Regions from separate parts of the Homo sapiens genome. Here region 1 is linked to region 2. Evidence: promoter capture Hi-C in human tissues and cell types (Jung and others, 2019). All regions are on one chromosome and are shown on one strand. The core of a region is centred on a gene start or on the middle of the fragment in contact, and the rest is flanking DNA. Distances in the headings are between cores, read along the strand shown.

What was found. Contacts are between HindIII fragments. The study calls those that stand out against the background at their distance.
Region 1: the fragment with the promoter of IZUMO1 here is called in contact with a fragment that was not itself captured in region 2 in 3 of the 25 tissues and cell types used here (dorsolateral prefrontal cortex, heart left ventricle and lymphoblastoid cells).

The regions. Positions count from the first base shown.
Region 1 is chr19:48,745,112-48,748,501 of GRCh38, reverse strand. It overlaps IZUMO1 (izumo sperm-oocyte fusion 1), which reads left to right and starts at 1,593. Exons shown (of 10, transcript NM_182575.3): 1 at 1,593-2,067; 2 at 2,570-2,877; 3 at 3,214-3,288. The coding sequence starts at 2,643. It overlaps FUT1 (fucosyltransferase 1 (H blood group)), which reads left to right. Exons shown (of 2, transcript NM_001384359.1): 2 at 1-491. RefSeq lists enhancers at 527-1,312, 1,313-2,098 and a cis regulatory region at 2,874-3,390. The HindIII fragment of the contact is 12,211 bases long and covers 1-3,335 here.
Region 2 is chr19:48,855,100-48,858,944 of GRCh38, reverse strand. PLEKHA4 (pleckstrin homology domain containing A4) reads left to right here. Exons shown (of 20, transcript NM_020904.3): 8 at 1-85; 9 at 1,449-1,523. Among named protein-coding and RNA genes, the nearest start is that of PLEKHA4, 12 kb to the left of the region's middle. The HindIII fragment of the contact is 8,029 bases long and covers 1-3,845 here.

The DNA of each region.
Region 1 (3,390 bases), core at 344-2,843, 110 kb after region 2:
TCTCACAATGAAGGAAGTTGGTCTTTGTCTGCAGGTGGGCTGCTGAGGGTCTGGGATCTGTTTTCTGGAAGTGTGCAGGTATAAACACACCCTCTGTGCTTGTGACAAACTGGCAGGTACCGTGCTCATTGCTAACCACTGTCTGTCCCTGAACTCCCAGAACCACTACATCTGGCTTTGGGCAGGTCTGAGATAAAACGATCTAAAGGTAGGCAGACCCTGGACCCAGCCTCAGATCCAGGCAGGAGCACGAGGTCTGGCCAAGGTGGACGGGGTTGTCGAGATCTCAGGAGCCCCTTGCTGTTTTTTGGAGGGTGAAAGAAGAAACCTTAAACATAGTCAGCTCTGATCACATCCCCTGTCTACTCATCCAGACCCCATGCCTGTAGGCTTATCAGGGAGTTACAGTTACAATTGTTACAGTACTGTTCCCAACTCAGCTGCCACGGGTGAGAGAGCAGGAGGTATGAATTAAAAGTCTACAGCACTAACCCGTGTCTCTGTAGCTTTTTTGGAGCCAGAGCCACTGTGTATGTGTGTGTGGGTTTGTGTGTGTGTGTGTGTGTGTGTGTGTGTAAGAGAGTGGAGGAAAAGGTGGGGTACTTCTGAAGACTTTTATTTTTTTTTAATTAATTTATTTTTTTTCAGAGATCGAGTCTTGCTCTGTGGCCCAGGCTGGAGTGCAGTAGTGTGATCTCGGCCCACTGCAAACTCCCACCTCTCGGATTCTGGTGCCTCAGCCTCCCAAGTAGCTGGGACTACAGACGTTCGCCACCATGCCCAGCTAATTTTTGTATTTTTAGTAGAGACGGGGTTTCACCATGTTAGCCAGGCTGGCCTCGAACTCCTGACCTCAGACAATCTGCCCGCCTCGGCCTCCCAAAGCGCTGGAATTACAAGCGTGAGCCACCGCGCCGGGCCCTGAGGATTTTTATTACTCGTGATTGGGAGTACTGTCCCTACTTAGATCTGACAGCCCCTTGTTGCTGGACTTGTGTGAGTTGTGGTCCCTGTTTTTCTGGTTCCCTGTTTCTATCACACAGGAGAGAGAGACCTTCCAGGACCCTAACGTCTGAGCCCCCAGTTGCTCACTCCTGGACTGTCAGTATTGGCCCCCAGTCCTCTCCTCCCACTGGGACCTCCGCGTGGGCAGAAGAGGCGGAGGAGGGAGCGGATTATCACTGAACTACATTTCCCGGAAAGCTATGAGGTTGGCAGCGTCAGTCAGCTACAGAGAAAGAGGCCCCAGGGCATTTTGGGAGTTGTAGTCTTAGGGCTAAAATGTCCACTTCGTGGCTCGACAGCCGTTTCCAAGGACCGCGGTGGGGGCGGCAGCGGCCTGGGGGGCCGGATCTAGCCCAAAGCCTGGGTCCTGGGGCAAGGGGAGGGGAGGAAACTGAAGGCCTGAGTCCGGTCCTTGACTCTGGAAGCCAGAGTAGTCAGGAGGCTTCCTCTTCCCTAGATGCTGGGAAAATTCTAGTCCAAAAAGGCTGCAGCCTCTGTGACGTCATGGAGCGATGGGCGGGACCTCCCTTTGTTGCAGTCCAATCAGACAGAGTTGAGTTTCTGGGTGGGGCCGAGGAAAACCCCAAGGAATATCTATAAAGGAATTCGGGCCCCTACGTGAGAAGCTCGGAGGGGGTGGTTTCAGGAGTTCCTTGTGGAGAGGGGATCGTCCGTGACTCAGACCCCGTCGAAAAGCTCTCGATTTCACGCAACCAACCTTACCCTCGTCCCCAACACAATCCTTGATTTTACCCCTGGGAAAATTAGCGTAGGTGGTCATGACCCCGGCTTCCTCTTTAAAAGCCCTCAGAACCTGGACCGGGCTCCTCAATGAACCCTAGTGTTAGAGGCCACAAATCGGGAACCAAGGTCGGGGAGCGGCTGTTTAGGGTGCATCACTGTTCAGGATGCATCGGGGCTCCTTTTTCTAAGCGGAAGGGTGCGCCCTGCAAATTGGGAGCCCGTTAGTTTTGGGGAAGGGTGAACAAGGGCCCCCTAGGTCTAGAGGACCGCATGGAGTCTCGCTTAAGTGTTAGTGGGGTCCTCAGTTCTAGGAATCTGGTATGTGTTTTGGTTTTGAAGGAGTTCCGAGTTTGATAATATCGTGGTTGGGTCTGTGTTAGATGTTTATTGGTTTGGGCATTGAATCTTCAGCTTGAGGTTCAACAGGTTTTGGGGGGCTGGCGGGGGAGTGCCTCGGTGTTGCTCTTAAGGGTTGGAGTTCAGGCTCACGTCAATCTGGGGACTTGGAAAATTCCACAGTTTGGGATTTTGGGAAGGGGCGCATGGGGTTGGGAGATTCCAGGTTCTGAGTTTGGGGACTTATGAGTGATTCCTGTTTAATAGTTTTTCTGATCTCTCAGTTGGGGGATTCAGTGAGAACCCTAAATTTTGGGTCCCCTGGATTGGGGCTCAGTTTCACACTTCGGAGGCATTTGATGAAGGACATAGGTCCTCTTTATTTGGAGATTTCCTGAAGATCCTCTTTTCGAGGTTTGCGGACCCCATGGATAGGCGGCCCAGTGGGATTTCTTAAGATGGATTTTGGCTTTTCTCCGTTTAGCGTTCTCCTGCTCTCGGTTTGGGGTGAGAGCACCCTTCCTAACGGTCTTCGGGAACTGTGCGCGCCGGCTGCAATGGGGCCGCATTTTACCCTCCTGTGTGCGGCGCTGGCCGGTTGCTTGCTTCCTGCCGAGGGGTGTGTTATATGTGACCCGTCTGTCGTGCTGGCGCTAAAGTCCCTGGAGAAAGATTACCTGCCTGGCCACCTGGATGCGAAGCATCACAAAGCCATGATGGAAAGGGTAGAGAATGCCGTGAAGGATTTCCAGGAACTGTCGCTTAATGAGGATGCCTATATGGGGGTCGTTGGTGAGGGCAGGGGGGACCACGGACCCCTGGGTCCTGGGAAAGGAGGGAGATAAGACCAGGGGAAGGAAGAGGCTGACAGCAGGGTCTCCGGGATTCGGGAATGGAGAAGGCTGAGATGCAGATTCCGAGGTTCCCCGAGGCTAGTAAATACCGTTTTCCCTATCCTCGGCTGGCAATTTTATGTAATAAAACTACAACTCCCAGAAGGCAACGGGCGGCTGAGTCCTTAACCAGGCCTATCTTTGCCCAGTGGCCTCATGGGTATTGTAGTTTCTAAGATTAGGCGCGCCAATGAGACAGTAAGGCTGGAATCTGGGGTTATATCTCCTCTGACAGATGAGGCCACACTGCAAAAGGGGTCCTGGAGTTTGCTGAAGGATCTGAAACGCATCACAGACAGTGATGTAAAAGGTAAATGCATCAAGGGGGTGGGAGTCCCGAATCTCTCAGAGAAGCCAGCGTTAGTGATGCCTGGTCTCTTGGTCAGATACTAGGCTGTGGACCCAGACCGCC
Region 2 (3,845 bases), core at 560-3,059:
TCCCCGCCGAGGACCTCCCTCTGAGGCTGGGGGAGGAAAGCCCCCCAGGAGTCCCCAGCACTGGAGTCAGGAGCCCAGAACACAGGTGAGCAGAGAGGTGAGAAGGAGGGGACTACGTTTCCCATCAGGCCTCAGGGCTGTCTTTCCGTATTCTCAAGGCCATTGCTCCCTGGGTGTCATGGGTATTGTAGTCCATAATGATCTCAGCTGGGCTCAGGTGAGAGAGAGCTTGAACCTATCAGGTGTCCAGCTCCTCTCAGGTGTCTGGGCTGTCTTTCTAGGCTGGTCTTCGGCCATTGCTTTTTTTTTTTTTTTTTGAGACTGAGGTCTTGCTCTGTCGCCAAGGTTAGAGGGCAGTGGCACGATCTCGGCTCACTACAACCTCTGTCTCCCGGGTTCAAGCGATTCTCCTGCCTCAGCCTCCCGAGTAGCTAGGATTACAGGCACCTGCCACCACGTCCGGCTGATTTTTATATTTTTGGTAGAGATGAGGTTTCACCATGTTGACCAAGCTGGTCTCGAACTCCTGACCAGCTGACAGGTGATCTGCCCATCTCAGCCTCCCAAAGTGCTGGGATTACAGGCGTGAGCCACCGCGCCTGGCCCAGCCATTGCTCTTTAAGCATCATGGGGATTGTAGTCCTGGATACTCTGTGCCAAGACAGTGCGGTGAGAGGTTTGCATCTCCCTTGTGTCCCCAGTTCACCTTGCAAGTTGGTTGCCTGCTGTTTTGTCTGAGCATCATGGGACGGTAGCTCAGAATATCCACAGCTGACTGCAAGTCTGAGAATGAGAGTAGCAAATTCCATCATCTTGTGGGGCTGTTTTGCCAGGCTGGTGCATTTATTATCACCCTCTGTGTCCCCACAGTGGCACACAGCTGGAGAGCAGGTAGTTGAGGAAGTTGAGAGGGCCCAGTTCTGAACCTCAAAATATCTCCTAAAGCACTTCAATTATGGACATGCCCACTCTACTATTTGTCACTAAGACATGCCAGTTTCTTTTTTTTTTTAATTATTATTATTATTTTTTTATTGATCATTCTTGGGTGTTTCTCGCAGAGGGGGATTTGGCAGGGTCATAGGACAATAGTGGAGGGAAGGTCAGCAGATAAACAAGTGAACAAAGGTCTCTGGTTTTCCTAGGCAGAGGACCCTGCGGCCTTCCGCAGTGTTTGTGTCCCTGGGTACTTGAGATTAGGGAGTGGTGATGACTCTTAACGAGCATGCTGCCTTCAAGCATCTGTTTAACAAAGCACATCTTGCACTGCCCTTAATCCATTTAACCCTGAGTGGACACAGCACATGTTTCAGAGAGCACAGGGTTGGGGGTAAGGTCATAGATCAACAGGATCCCAAGGCAGAAGAATTTTTCTTAGTACAGAACAAAATGAAAAGTCTCCCAGACATGCCAGTTTCTAAACATCTCCATTTCAACGTTCCTCCCAGGCACACTCTGGCTCCCCCACTTATCTCCAGCTCCCCCCGCGGCCCCCTGGGACCCGGGCCTCCATGGTTTTATTGGTAGGTATCCTGGAGTACCCTAAATCTACCGGAGCCCCCTCCCTTCCTTTCTTCTCTATGAGGAATGTCATCTCTTGGCCTAGGGTGCCTAGAGAACTGTAGATATTTCAAAGACCCTGGGTAGGTATTAGATTCATGTGGTGGCTGTAACAAAGCGCATGGCCGAAAACAACAGAAATGGATTATCTTGCGGTTCTGGAGGCCAGAGGCCTGGAGTCAAGGGATTGGCAGGGCTATACTTCCACTGAAGGTTCTAAGGAGGAGCTTTTATTGACTCTCTCTTAGCTTCTGGTGGTTGCCAGCAATTCCTGAGGTTCTGTGGTTTTTTTTATGGCCACATCTTTGCCTCCATCATCCCATGATGATCTTCCTTTGTGTTTTTGTTGCTGTCCATCTCCTCCTATTAGGACACCCCATGACATCGTCGTAACTTAACTTAAATCCGCAAAAACCTCTTTCTTTCTTTCTTTCTCTTTCTTTTTCTTTTCTTTTCTTTCTTTCTTTCTTTTTTTTTTTTTTTTTTGAGACGGGGTCTCTCTCTGTCGCCCAGGCTGGAGTGCAGTGGTGCGATCTCGGCTCACTGCAAGCTCTGCCTCCCGGGTTCATGCCATTCTCCTGCCTCAGCCTCCTGAATAGCTGGGACTACAGGCGCCCGCCACCACGCCCGGCTAATTTTTTTGTATTTTTTTCTTTGTTTTTTTCTTGAGACAGAGTCTCGCTCTGTCGCCCAGGCTGGATTGCAGTGGCGCGATCTCGGTTCACTGCAACCTTCGCCTCCCTGGTTCAAGCAATTCTCCTGCCTCAACCTCCTGAATAGCTGGGATTACAGGCACGTGCCACCATGCCTGGATAATTTTTGTATTTTTAGTAGAGACGGGGTTTCACCATGTTGGTCAGGCTGGTCTCGAACTCCTAACCTCGTGATCCTCCCGCCTCGGCCTCCCAAAGTGCTGGGATTACAGGCGTAAGCCACTGCGCCTGGCCCAACTTTTTTGTATTTTTAGTAGAGATGGGGTTTCACTGTGTTAGCCAGGATGGTCTCGATCTCCTGACCTTGTGATCTGCCCGCCTCGGCCTCCCAAAGTGCTGGGATTACAGGCGTGAGCCACCGCGACTGGCCTTCCTTCCTTTCTTTCTTTCTTTCCCCCTTCCCCTTCCCCTTCCCCTCCCCTCCTCGTTCTTTCCTTTCCTTTCCTTTTTCTCTCTCTTTCTTTCTTTCCTTCTTTCCTTCCTTTTTCTTTTTTTTTTTTGAGAAGGAGTTTCACTCTTGTTGCCCAGGCTGGAGTGCAATGGCGTGATCTCGGCTCACCGCAACCTCCCCTCCTGGGTTCAAGCGATTCTCCTGCCTCAGCTGCCCGAGTAGCTGGGATTACAGGCACCCACCACCACGCCCTGCTAATTTTGTATTTTTAGTAAAGACAGGGTTTCTCCATGTTGGTCAGGCTGGTCTTGAACTCCCGACCTCAGGTGATCTGCCTGCCTCGGCCTCCCAAAATGCTGGGATTACAGGCATGAGCCACTGCGCCTGGCCACCTAGCTAACTTTTTCTACTTTTTGTAGAGACAGGGTTTTGCCATGTTACCCAGGCTGTTTTTTGTTTTTTTTTAAATTAAAAAAAATTATTTATTTTCTTGAGACAGAGTCTCACTCTGTCACCCAGGCTGGAGTGCAGTGGTGCAATCATGGCTCACTGCAGCCTCAGTCTCCTGGGCCCAAGCGATACTCCCACCTCAGCCTCCCTAGTAGCTGAGACTACAGGCATGTACCACCATGCTCAGCTTATTTTATTTATTTATTTATTTATTTATTTATTTATTTGAGACGAAATCTCACTCTGTCACCCGGGCTGGAGTGCAATGGCACGATCTCGGCTCGCTGCAACCTCTGCCTCCCGGGTTCAAGTGATTCTTCTTCCTCAGCCTCCCAAGTAGCTGGGATTACAGGCGCCCGTCACTACGCCTGGCTAAGTTTTGTATTTTTAGTAGAGACAGGGTATCACCATGTTGGTCAGGCTGGTCTCGAACTCCTGACCTCAGGTGATCCACCCGCCTCGGCCTCCCAAAGTGTTGGGATTACAGGCATGAGCCACCGCACCCGGCCCTATTTTTTTATTTTTATTTTTTTTGCAGACACAAGGTCTCCCTATGTTGCCCAGACTGGTCTTTAACTCCTGGGCTCAAGTGATCTTCCCTCTTTGGCCTCCCAAAGCTTTGGGATTACAGGAGTGAGTCACTGTGCCCTGCACTTTGTTTTATTCTTAGTCATAAATAAAATGTCTAAATTTCTCCATTAATTATAATATTTGCCATGGCTGCTTGATCA